2 separate regions of the Homo sapiens genome follow, and region 1 is linked to region 2. The links are contacts of gene promoters, found by promoter capture Hi-C in human tissues and cell types (Jung and others, 2019). All regions are on one chromosome and are shown on one strand. Each heading gives the region's core, a stretch centred on a gene start or on the middle of the fragment in contact. The rest is flanking DNA. Distances are from core to core; before and after follow the strand shown.

Region 1 (6,654 bases), core at 3,882-6,381, 220 kb before region 2:
CTTTCCTTGCCCTCCAGCAGCTTCCTATAGGTGGCGATCTTGATGTCCAGGGCCAGCTTGACATTCATCAGCTCCTGATACTCACGCAGCTGCCGCTCCATGTCCTGCTTGGCCCGCTGCAGGGCGCCCTCCAGCTCGGACAGCTTGGCGTTGGCATCCTTAATGGCCAGCTCCCCACGTTGCTCGGCATCTGCGATGCCCTCTGGCCTTTGAGGCCCTCAATCTCAGCCTGGAGCCGGCTGATGTTCTGGTTCATCTCAGAGATCTCAGTCTTTGTATGCTGCAGGTCATCTCCATGCTTCCCAGCCAGCATCTGCAGCTCCTCATACTTGATCTGGTACATGCTCTCAGCCTCAGCCCAGCTGCAGTTGGCGATCTCCTTGTACTGTGCCTTGACCTCAGCGATGATGCTGTCCATGTCCAGGGAGTGACTGTTGTCCATGGACAGCACCACAGGCGTGTCCGAGATCTGGGACTGCAGCTCCCGGATCTCCTCTTCATACAGCTGCCTGAGGAAGTTGATCTCGTCAGTCAGCCCTTCCAGGCGAGACTCCAGCTCTACCTTATTCATGTAAGCTTCATCCACATCTTTCTCGATGAAGGCAAATTTATTCTCCATCTTTGTATGCTTATTGATCTCATCCTCATACTTGTTCTCGAAGTCCTCCACCCAGCCCCTGCATGTTGCCAAGCTCTGCCTTCAGCTTCAGCTTCTCCTGGCCCAGAGTCTCCAGCTGCTGCCTAAGGTTGTTGATGTAGCTCTGAACATGTTGTCCATGTTAACTCTGAGCCGTCTTCTGCTGCTGCAGGAGGCTCCAGTTGGTCTCCAGCATCTTGTTCTGCTGCTCCAGGAACCATACCTTGTCTATGAAGGAGGCAAACTTGTTGTTGAGGGTCTTGATCTGCTCCTTCTCCTGGGTGCACATGGCCTGAATGTTGGGGTCCACCTCCAGGTTAAGGGGGCTCAGCAGGCTCTGGTTGACAGTGATGGCAGTGATGCCTCCCATGCCACTGGCCCCACCATAGCCTCCGCCCAGGTCACCCCGGAAGCTGCTGCTGCCCACTCAGGAGAAGCTCAAGGAGCTGATGCCAGCACTGGGCCCACTCATGTAGAAGCAGCTGCTGAAGACCTGGGGGCCAGAGGTGGGCACCTTGTAGGACTTCTGGGTCACCCTGATGAACATGGTGGAAGCAGGAGTGGAGGCAGGTGGGCTGAACCAGGCGGAGATTCCAGAAGGAGCAGAGAAGCTGCTTCTTGGTCACTAACACTATTAATACACCTTTTTATACATGCTCCAGAGTTGTATCCTTTATAACATAGTACAAGCACACATTACACACCACACACCCTACATACACACAGAGGTACCCTTCAAGTATTCACACACACACACACACATTAAACACACACACATGTTCACATCATTTACAAACACACACACTCGCCATACATTCATGCATATACATACACTAGACATGTACCCTCTCCATAAACACGCACACCTCCCACACATGTACAATCTACACACACATACACACACACACACACTGTAGAACCTAATGAGACACCCCCAGGCTCTCTGGCCATGAGCAGCATCTCTGAAATCTGCTCCTAACCAGTGAGAACAGCCCCCCAGCAGCCTTAAGGTCCCAGCAGTGCTGCCCAGTGGCAACAGTTGCCCCAGTGGCTGGGGCACACAGCCCTCCCACTCTCCCTGCCTGGTGGAGATTCCTCACCGTGTGGTAGCTGTGGGTGCCTGTCTGCATTAGCAGCTGCTGCAGGGTGCTGATCATCTTGCGACGCCGGCGGCTCTCCTCCCGCACACCCTTGAGCTCGTCAGCCTGGCGTCCCAGCTCCTGCTGACCACGCTGCTGCTGGCCCAGGCTGGTCTGCAGCCGTGCCTCCAGCTGGGCAACACTGGCACTCAGGCAATCCTGGCAGTGCAGCAGGTACTCAATGATGAGCTGCGCCAGGCGCAGCACCTTGAGCAGTGCCGGGTCCACAGGCTGCCCACAGCGGCTGCACACCTCCCGGTCCAAGTTGCAGAAGGTGATGCCAGCAATATTCTCCTGCAGAGTGGCCACATCCAGTTCCCGGGCCACGCGGTCTACATCCAGGGTGCTAATGCGTCTCCAGTCCATGCTATCATGGCGAGGCTGAAACTTGAAGGTGGGGAACGTGTAGGCCCCAAAGAGGGGGCCACTGAGGCCCTCAGCAGTGGCAGCTGGGGACTGCATGGGCAGAGGAAGCCCTGAGCTGACCACCAGAGGAGGGGGGCACCAAGGCCACGGCAGTAGGCCAAGGAGCTGAGAGAAGGCCTGGAAAATAAGAAGAGAGTCCAAGTTAGGTGAGGTGTGTGTGGCTGCACCTACTGTATATCTGGCCAGCAAGGGCCTAAGCGGGGCAAAGTGAGGTGTCTGTGCAGCAGCTGTAGCATTCATGGTGTGTGCTGACATGGCCAGAGCTGTGGAAAGAAAACATGGGCTTTGCAATCACACAGATGTGGATTCGAATGCTCTGCCTTGGGCAAGTCCCTGCACATCTTTAAGCCTCCTGTGTCTAAGGAGGAACATGGGTCCCACTGTGCAGGCCTGTGGTGAGGAATGAGGCAAGTGAAGCACCCAGCCTAGTGCCTGGCACATAGCAGGTCCTCAGTGAGCCCCCTCTGCAAAGCCCACCTCCACTGCAGGAATGCCTGGCAAAGGCCTTTGTCAGCAGGTGACTATCAAATTTACAAATGGGTCCTTCTGCAACCCTATTTTTATCTCAAGATAAAGTCCGACAACTTGCTGTGAGTGACCAAGGTTCCTAATGTCCACCCTGTCTTCTCTTTCTCATATAACTACAGGATTCTAATGGAACACGAGTGAACTACCTTTCCCAGCTTCTCCAGCAATAACGTGTGATCATATGACTAAGTTCTCTCTCCTGGAATGTGAGTGAAATGATGTCCACCCCTGTCAGGAGGGGCTTAAGAGAGTTACGGAGTCTCTGCCACATGGTGCTCAATCCATCATGGGCTTTTTTTTAACTTAATAGTTAAGTAAAAAGATCTCTAGTTTCTTTGCCAAGACTCAGATTCTACTCTCTAAACTCTTGGTGAGCATATGAACTGTTCTCTCTGAAAAGTAATTTGACAATATCAATGGGAATTTTGAACATTCCACTACTAAAAATTATAATTATGCTACAAACTCATATGTACAAAGGTACTTGTGAAAAAATTGTCATTGTAGCATCTTTTATAAAAGCAAAGTAAAAGAAAAAGTAGAAGAAAGCAAAGTACAATGTATCTCTATGCAATGGAATATTATGCAGCTATTGATTGGTATAAAGCAGACTTACATGTACTGATATGAAATGATAATCTCCAATATATATATATGTAAACACACACAAAATAGGCATATATACCTCTATTTCTGTTTTAATGACATATTAATATAATCATATTTAATAACTCACCAAAGTGAAAGATATATATCATATTAGAATGGTTGTCTATGAGAGGAGGGAGGGAAATGGGAGTGTGGAATGGGGATAAATAAATGGATGGATGGTGTGTGGGTGGTGATGGTCAGATAGACAGGTAAATAGGCCTTCACAGACCAATGATGATCATTTTATATAAATATATATATATATACATATTCAGTCGTCTGTCAGTGTCCATGAGGGATTGGTTCCAGGACCCTCCTCAGATACCAAAATCTACAGATGCTCAAATTGCTTATACAAAATGGTGTAGTATTTGCATATAACCTATACACATTCTCGCACACACTCTAAATCATCTCTAGATTATTTATAATACCTAATACAATGTAAATGCTATAAAAATAGCTGTTATACTTAATTATTTAGGAATAATGACAAGAAAAAAACTCTGTACATGTTCAGTACAGAAGAAACTATCCTTTTTTTTTCAAATATTTTTGATCCGCAGTTTGTTGAATCTGTGGATGCAGATCCACAGATATGGAGAGTCAACATATATATACACCCATACACACACATACATATGAAAGACTCATATTTGTTATAATTAGTTTTATAATGAATAAAATATGCTCATTTATAATTCATATGTATGATTCACTTATGTATATTATTTCATAAGCATAGACTGTTTCTGGAAAGATAGACAAGAAGCTATTAGCAATGGCTGCCTCTGGGAAGTGAAAATAGAGATTACAGGACTTTTATTTTTCACTTTCTACCTCTCTGTACTATTCAAACTTCTTATCATCATCTTCTATCACTTTTATTATTTTTTAAAATAAAACATAGAATTTCAGTTCTTGCAGAAGTGAGAATCTGACTAAGGCAACAAGAGGTACACTTTACCCTATTTAATCAAGTCTTTCGAGATTACATGATTCAGTCTTCTTTCTTTTTTTTTTTTTTTTTTTTTTTTTTTTTGAGACAGTGTCTCGCACTGTCGCCCAGGCTGAAATACAATGGCGCGATCTCGGCTTACTGCAACCTCCACCTCCCGGGTTCATGCAATTCTCCTGCCTCAGCCTCCAGAGTAGCCGGGATTACAGGCACACTCCACCACACCTGGCTAATTTTTTGTATTTTTAGTAGAGACAGGGTTTCACTATGTTGGCCACACTGGTCTCAAACTCCTGACCTCGTGATCCACCCGCCTCAGCCTCCCAAAGAGCTGGGGTTACAGGTATGAGCCACTGCACCCGGCCCATGATTCAGACTTTAAAAAGTGCAATAGAAAGTGCACTTTAAAAAGTGCAATAGAAAGTCAAAGAAGTCATCAGCTTCAGAAGGAAGAAGGCCTTTAAAAAATCGTAGGACTAGGCTGGGCGCAGTGGCTCACGCCTGTAATCCCAGCACTCTGGGAGGCCAAGGTGGGTGGATCACGAGGTCAAGAGATTGAGACCATCCTGGCCAACATGGTGAAACCCCGTCTCTACTAAAAATAGAAAAATTAGCCGGGCGTGGTGGCGTGCACCTGTAGTCCCAGCTACTCGGGAGGCTGAGGCAGGAGAATGGTGTGAACCTGGGAGGCGGAGCTTGCAGTGAGCCGAGATCGCGCCACGGCACTCCAGCCTGGGTGACAGAGCGAGACTCCGTCTCAAAAAAAAGTGGTAGGACTAGGTTGGCCAAAAAAAAAAGAGAGAGAGAGAGAGAAAGAGAGAGAGAGAAGGGCCTCCAGGAACAGCCCCTGACCCCACTGAGCCACTGTCTTCTTCTGTGAAAGGCAGTGACAGGCCAGCCCTGCCTACCTCACAGGGTGCTATGAGACTTGGAGAAGATGCAAGGGGAAGGTGCTCAGTGATAACAATGGCAGCTCTGCAGGGAGTGTCACCCTCTGTGCTAGATACAAACTCCTAATACAAACCTACAAACAGGTATTATTATTCTCATTTTACAAATAAGGAAACTGGTTTCTGGAGTGGTTCAGTGGCATCCCCCAAAGGTCATATGTTGAAAACTCAATCCCCAATGCAGCAGTGTTGAGAGATGGGACATTTAAGAGGTGATTAAGTCACGAAGACTCTGCCCTCATGAATGGATGAATGTCATTATTGTAGGAGTGGGTTAGTTATCACAGGAGTAGGTTCCTGATGAAAGGAGGAATTCAGTCCCCTTCCCTCTTGCTCTTATGCTTTCTTGACCTTCCACTCTCCACCAGGAGATGATGCAGCAGGAAGGCCCTTGCCCAATATTGGACTTCAAGCTTGATATTGGACTTGATATTGGACTTAAGCTTCCAGAACTGTGAGAAATACATTTCTTTTCTTTATAAATTACCCAGTCTGTGTCATTCTGTTGCAACAGTACAAAATGGATGAAAACAGGAGACCAGATTTGAAGTGTAATTGTAGGTTCATCTGGCACCAAAGCTTATGGACTCTGAACCACTCAACATTGATTCTTGGGGCTATTCCTCCTAAAATATTGCTTTGATCAGATTATCATCCTTTATCCCTTAAACCTCCAATTCATCCATTTACTCACTCCTCATTTATAGTATGCCTATGTGGGCCCAGCCCAAGCTCAGGTCCTGGGCTATGGAGCCATATTAACCACACAGCTGCTCCCCACCCTGGAGCTCAGCATGGCTCCCTATTCCCACTGTACCAAACGCAAACCTCTCAGCCTGGTCTTGAGACTGCCTACAGGATGCCACTGGCCCACCTTTTCAGTTTCAGATCCATCCTTCCCTTTCTCAGATACTCTTTCCCAACAAGTACTCCAAAAAGAAAACCAGCCTGACATAAGCACCCCCACCATGGCCATGAGAAGACTAGCACATTTCTGCCATGTTATGAAACAGTGCAGTGGCGCGATCTCGGCTCACTGCAAGCTCTGCCTCCCAGGTTCACGTCATTCTCCTGCCTCAGCCTCCCAAGTAGCTGGGACTACAGGTGCCCGCCACCATGCCTGGCTAATTTTTTGTATTTTGAGTAGAGATGGGTGACATGATACTCACCATGCTTAGCTCCAAAGCTGCAACTGTGCCACCAGAGCCTCAGAGACGACTACTCACAACAAGCTGTGCCTCGGAGCAACAGCAGGTTACCAGGCATGCTGTGGGCAAGGGTAATAAGACACCTGCTTCCTGATGTCCCAGCTCTCAGGTGAGCTCACCTGAGAACTGCACTGTTTAACTATTTAAGCTTTGGCGT
Region 2 (6,992 bases), core at 998-3,497:
TGCCTGTCTCAGTTATAAAGGGAACCCTGAATAACCTTGCTGAGAGAGAGGACAAGGTTCCTGGGTTGGCCAACTTTAGGCATTGCTTTCAAGGGGTTTACCTTATAGAGAGGTGACCTTTACACAGATGCCTCAGTAGAAGACGGGAGGGGAGGCTGCTCGCTCTCCTCCTTTCAGCAGGAGGGAGCACTTAGTTTGAGTACTGCATTGTACTCAGAGCTCTGAGTAATACACATGAAAAAATAACAACATTGCTAACAAAAGTTATTACCCCCATAGGAGCTCTAGGGCATCAACACATGAAATGACCATAATATGGGGCAATAACATTAGAGACACCACAGACAACATCAGACCAGCCAGGAAGTGTCTAAAGGAGTCTCATCACAGCTCTGCAGGCGTTACAGGACAGGTATCATCCCTCCTGTCTACGTAAAGGATACGGAGGCCAGAGAGTTGAGGAAATGAGTCACACAGCAATGAATGGTAGGACCAGTTGATCAGAATTTACTTCAACCAGAACATTCACGTATGAAGTGGCTTCTGACTCTAGAATCCTAGAATATCAAGGCTGGAAGAAGGCCCTTAGGGATAATTCACACAACATCCTCATTCCATAGATGGGCAAGCTATAGCCTGGAGAGGTTATGTGATGTAGTCAAAGACACAGTTGGCTATAGAGGACACAAGAACTACATCAGGTCTTCTGACTTCCAGTCTAAAAATCCCACCCCACCCCACCCCACACCCCTCCCACCCCCAGCATGGGGTACCCTTAGAATGATGCTGCTTTCCCCTTTCCTCTTTTTTAAACCACTAGGCTTTTGAAATCCACATGCAAACTGCTGGTCCTGCTGAGGACAATAAGAGAGAAACCAGATGTCTCAAAACCACTAATGCTCTATTATCTAGGAGGCGCTGTAGCCTTGGTATGCATCTTACTGGGGCCAGCTGATGATGAGGCATTTTAAGTTCGTTTTAAAATGTTCCCATGTTGCAGATCATCCAGCTGATCTCCTTATGACCAAGCACTCTCTCCTAATTCCAGGGTCTATGCCTGCATGTTTTTACCATCACTTCAGAATCAACCACTATCTATTGTCCAGGACCAAGAAGAAGAGCAGCTGCTGGCTTCTGAATTCACTTGTCCCACATGCAAATGAAGTAAGACACTCTATATAACATATGTCCAGCACATAATATATCTCAAAACATATTTGTTAATAAGTGAAATTTGATGAGAACAGTGGTGGGAAAACTGGGTCTCCACAGAGCACACAGTTACAGACTCATGCCCAAAGTCAAAAGAACCTATACTGTATTCTCTGTGCAAGCTGCAGTTGTATTTCAACAAGAACAAAATAACGGTCACATCGAGTTATGTTGATTCGTATTTTCTTAGTTTATAGTTTTATTTAATGCATGTTTAGGTTTTATGGTTGTATAAGCACTATAAATGTAAACAGCTTCTACTCAGTTTTGTTTGCATTAATTTTGTTTGCGTAAAATTTGTCATCACTGGGGTTCCAAGATAAGTTTTGTCCCTTTAAGACGGAAGGGTACATCACTCAAGTTTGAGAACACTGTCACGTACTGCTGGCAAACAGAATGTCACTTTTATACTGCAACCCCGCTCTAATCACCCTCCTCTTCCCCGAGCCCAACCCAGAGCTGGAAGCTAGCGCCCCTTGAGGCTTACCTGCAGGGCAATTTCCTTCTTCCTGCTGCCCATGGCTCTGCAAAGAAGACGAAGCCCTGTTACCGCGGCCGTGGGCCGTTCCCCCGCAGCCTCGCGACAAACCGCTGCGTGGATCAGCAAGCCCAGAGCCTCCTTCAGACAAGCCCCCCTCCTACGGCCCCCGGCCCCTTTTTAAGGTGCTTCTAACTGGCGGCAAATCAGCACACTGATACAAAGTGAACACCCCGCGAGGAAGCGGAGCCTGCAGTCCACGGGCTCGTGGCTCGCCGGGCGGTTTTCTGGGGATCTGCGAAGCCCCCTCCCCACCCCGGAGCCGGCCAGGGGGCGCGCGCAGAGGCCGGAGTCAGTGCGCCGGGCGCGGTGCAGCCTGTCGGGCACAGGGTCGCCAGTCGAGGAATTCTGACAAAAAAACGACATGGGACCCTGTTATCCCTGCTGTTCTTATGGATTACTGGGAAAGTGAGCCACTGCGAACGACAGGTACAAGATCTTCGACGCGCCCGGAGTCACCAACCGAGTCTGCCGCGACCTAGCCGCGGTCGTCATGGCAACCTGGCCCCCCCGCCAGGCCTGCCAGGAAAGCCGGCGGACACGTAAGCCACGCCCACTCTGGGCCCAACGCAGTCTCTCCGCGGAGGCTCTGAACCCAGCCAGGGAGAGGCAGGAGGGAGTCCCGCCCCTTGCCCTCCATATCGGACCATAGGAACCCACTCATTGGCTGCAGTGTTTGTCAGCGTCTGGAGGCTTCGAACCCACCAAGCAAAGACCCAGTGCATCTGTGCGTTGCACAGTCGCATCTGTGAATCCCTGCATCCCTCCTGCCCTGCCTGCCAAGACTGATGTGCAGCTTTTCTACCATCACATACCGGTATAATGTGTGCAAGGTGGGGGGTGTCTCCAGGTTTTGAGGGATCTGCAAGCGTTCTCTTTAAGGCAAAGAATATGAAATTACAAATTCAAAATTAGATATGAAAGTCAAGTGAGACACATACAAAACAGTTACAGACATTGTAGATATTAATCCAACTGTATCAATAACCACTTTAAATGTGAATAATCTGATTACACCAATTAAAAAAGAGATTGTCAGAATGGATTTCAAAAACAAACAAAGCCCAATCGTGTGTTATCCACAAGAAAATACATTAAAAGCAAAAGGATAGAGAAAGCTATACCAGGCTGACACTAATTAAAAAAATAGCTGAAGTAGGTATGTTAATTTCAAGAAAAGCAGACTTCAGAACAAGGAAATTTATCAGGTATAAACAGGGACATTACATAAAGTTAAAGGGATCAGTTATTTGGGAAGACATAACAATACTTAATATGTATGTACTTAAAAACAGAGCACCGAAATATGTGAGGCAAAAGAAGATAAAACTGCAAGGAAAAATAGGTAAACTCAGTATTATAATAGAATGCTTTCATACCATTTTTAAAAAGTAATTAATACATCCAGCAGAAGCAAATGAGCAAGGATATAGTTGAACTGAAAAATATCAAATTGATCTAATTGACATTTATGCAATATTTAGTTCAACAACAGCGGAATATAGATTCTTTCTCAAGCTCACATGGGACATTCACTGAGATAGACCACAATCTAGGCCATAAAACATAGCTTAACAAATTTAAAAGGATAGAACAAAGTATGTTCTCTGACTGCAATAGAATTAAACTAGGAATCAATCACAGCTGATGAAAGAGATCTCACAGATTTAAATAAATGAAGAAATATTCCGTGTTCATGGATAGGAAGAATTAATATTGTTAAGATATCAATTCTTCCTAAGTGAAGCATACACCAAATGATTTCCATCCAGGGAGTGCTGATACCCTGTTTGGCCATGAGGTACCCAGCAACCCTCTGTGAAGTACAGGGCGATGGGTATACTGGAGACCGAACATCTTCCTACCTGTCATCCTGCCTTCTCCCACTTCAGCTCCGAATCCACCTACTCTTTTCTTGCATTCAGTCCCATGGCAATATTCAGTTCCATGATAATATTACGCAGAGCCACAGGCAGTCCTTAAGACACCACATTGCAAACTGAGTTGACTAGATGCAAATCATGTTCATTGCCACAAGGTGGTGGTTGCTGAAGCTCTTGAATGGTGTGGAATCTCCCTTAGAATTTAGTTTCCAAAATAAAATTCAAATCAGATGCTAAATTCCTCTTGCCAGCACATGGAAAGATAGTGACATTTATTCTTTCTGAAAGGGTTAAATTTCTTACCATGTGGTCTCTATTACAAAATGTACTCACATCTTTGCCAGGCTAAACCTCAGAAACAAATTTAGGTAAACCACATGTCCCAGTTTGCCTGGGACACCCCCACTTTTCACCTGTTGTCCCATGCAATTATTAATAGCAACCCCTCTCACTTTCAAAAGTGTACAGTTTGGGTAGGGTGCAGTAGCTCACGCCTGTAATCCCAGCACTCTGGGAGGCCGAGGCAGGTGGATCACTTGAGGGCAGGAGCCTGGCCAACATGGTGAAACCCTGTCTCTACTAAAAAAAAGTATCAAATAACTGGGCCTGGTGGTGCATGCCTATAATCCCAGCTACTTGGGAGGCTGAGGCAGGAGAATCACTTGAACCCAGAAGACGGAGGTTGCAGTGAGCCAAGATCGTGCCACTGCACTCCAGCCTGGGTGACAGAACAAGACTCCATCTCAAAGAAAAAAAAAATTACAGTTTGGACAACATGGAACCTCATCAGTTTTTTCCCAGATGAATCACCTTGGGCCACTCCTGCTTTTTAATAAAACTTCCATCTTTTACATGTTTTGTGACACAGGTGAATGGTTTTTTTTGTTGTTGTTGTTTTTGTTTTTTTGGTTTTTTTTTGAGACAGAGTCTTGCTCTGTCACCTGGGCTGGAGTGCAGTGGCGTGATCTCAGCTCACTGCAACCTCCGCCTCCCGCGTTCAAGCAATTCTCCTGCCTCAGCCTCCCGAGTAGCTGGGACTACAGGCATGTGGCACTATGCCCAGCTAATTTTTGTATTTTTAGTAGAGATGGGGTTTTACCCCGTTGGTTGGCCAGGATGGTCTAGATCTCTTGACCTTATGATCCGCCTGCCTCAGCCTCCCAAAGTGCTGGGATTACAGGCATGAGCCACTGCTCCCCGCTGGGTCAGTGTTTTTATTTATTATCCAAAAGTCAGATTTTTTCAAATGTATCTATTTTTAATCAGCCCTTCCCTCAGTGATGTACTTTTTTGTTTGTTTTATTTTAATGCAAAACCTGCTAACTAAATTTAAGGGCTACTGAGGTGTTTTAGAGTTCAAAAGATTAAAAACCAAACTCTTCCTCCTGCAACTCATGTTTATTGCCACAAGGTGGTGGTTTACTCAAAATAAACCCTTCTGAGACCCAAATTGGACACTAGGAGCATTTTCTTTATCAAAATGCTTCAGAACTGATGTGACTCTGTAAAACAAGAATGACCCTCCTCACTTTAAGAGGAAATCATAGACCAAAGCAGGCTGTGCTTCCTCGGATGCCTTCCCGTTTTTCATCGTAGAAGATAAGAATGTATATACACATCTTCGTCTAACCTAACTCCTCTCTCCTTCCAGGTGTAATGTCTTCTTTTTTCCACAAGTAACAGCAGGTCCCTCCTGTGCCTTGCTCTGAGGAAGGCAGCTGGGAGTGGTAGAACTGGGAACTTTAGGGTCAGACAGATGTGGGCTGGATCACAGATACACCTACTACCTGTCTAAGCTTGGGTGAAGCTACTTCAGCTTATTCAGTCAGTCTTAGTTTCCTCATCTTTAAATTTTTTTTTTTTTAAAGAAATGGGGTCTTGTTATGTTGCGAGGTGCCTGGAACACCTAGGCTCAAGCAATCCTCCCACTTCAGCCTCCCAGGCAGCTGGGACTGCAGGTGTCCACCACCATGCCCGGCTTGTTTCCTCATCTTTAAACAGGGAAATAAGACCTACCTTTCAGGAATGTTGTGGAGAGAGGTAATGCGTTTCAAAGTTTCTTGACATTAAAACCAGTATTACTGTTGGCCGGGTGCAGTGGCTTACGCCTGTAATCAGTCCCAGCACTTTGGGATGCCAAGGCGGGTGGATCACGAGGTCAGGAGATCGAGACCCTCCTGGCTAACGTGGTGAAACCCCGTCTCTACTAAAAATACAAAAAAAAATTAGCTGGGCGTGGTGGCGGGCGCCTGTAGTCCCAGCTACTCGGGAGGCTGAGGCAGGAGAATGGCGTGAACCCGGGAGGCAGAGCTTGCAGTGAGCCGAGATTGCACCACTGCACTCCAGCCTGGGCAACTGAGCAAGACTCCATCTCAAAAAACAACAACAACAACAAAAAACCCAAAAAACAGTATTATTGTTGTTGTTGTGAAGGTATCATGCCCCCTTTCCACAGTATAGATACGTTGGGCAGCAGCTTCCCAGCCAAGGATTGCAAGCCATAACTCCCCAGGAGGTTCATCCAAGTTGTTGTGTGGATCAATATTTTAATTCCTTTTTATTACTTCGTATTCCATGGTCTCAGTATATCACCATTTGTTTCAAATTAATATTTGAGTGGGATATGAGGTTTTTTATTTCCCCATATGGATTTCTGGTTGCATAAGCACCATTTGCTGAGAAGACTTTCCTTTACTTCACTGGATTGATTTGGTGTCTTTGTCAAAAACCAACTGGCCATGTAAGTGTGAGTTTCCTTCAGGATTCTCTAGTCTATTCCGCTGATCTAGTTGACCATCCTTATACCAGTACTTGATTACTAGTTGTATAGTAAGTCTTAAAATCAGGTAATCTAAGTCATCCAACCTTGTTTTTCTTTTTCAAAATTATTTGTCTATTTTAAGTTCTTTTACTTTCATACAAATCCTAGAGTCAATCTGTTAATATGTCTGTCTTTAAAAATCCTCTTGAAAATTTGATTAAATTGCATTAAACCTAAAGATTGACTTGGGAAGAATTGACATCTTAATAATGCGGAGTCCTCCAGTCCATAAATAGGATGTGTGTTCCATTTATTCTTTAACTTCAGCAATGTTTTATAGTTGTTAAACCAATCTTGCAAGTCATTTGTATTCATTATGCTATTATTAATGAAATTGACTTTCAAAATTTATTGCCAATTTTGTGCTGCCAGTACATAGAAATACAACTGATTTTTTGTATATTGACTTTGTATTCTGAGATCTTGCTAAACTCACTTATTAGTGCTGGTAGTTTCTTTGTTGATTGTGAGGGTAACTTTGAAAACACAAGATAGTGAGCCATAAAATGGAAGCAGCTAGTCTGAGCCTAACAACCTG

What was found. The method cuts DNA at HindIII sites, captures the fragments that hold promoters and counts their contacts. A contact is called where the count stands out against the background at its distance.
Region 1: a fragment that was not itself captured here is called in contact with the fragment with the promoter of NME9 in region 2 in 1 of the 25 tissues and cell types used here (spleen).

Annotation. Positions count from the first base shown.
Region 1 is chr3:138,101,734-138,108,387 of GRCh38, forward strand. DZIP1L (DAZ interacting zinc finger protein 1 like) reads right to left here. Exons shown (of 16, transcript NM_173543.3): 2 at 1,738-2,319. The coding sequence starts at 2,238. It also overlaps the pseudogene KRT8P36. Among named protein-coding and RNA genes, the nearest start is that of DZIP1L, 11 kb to the right of the region's middle. The HindIII fragment of the contact is 3,985 bases long and covers 3,140-6,654 here.
Region 2 is chr3:138,327,604-138,334,595 of GRCh38, forward strand. It overlaps NME9 (NME/NM23 family member 9), which reads right to left and starts at 2,248. Exons shown (of 11, transcript NM_001349018.2): 1 at 1,700-2,248. The coding sequence starts at 1,732. LOC124909438 (a long non-coding RNA gene) reads left to right here and starts at 2,330. Exons shown (of 2, transcript XR_007096113.1): 1 at 2,330-2,567. The HindIII fragment of the contact is 18,429 bases long and covers 1-6,456 here.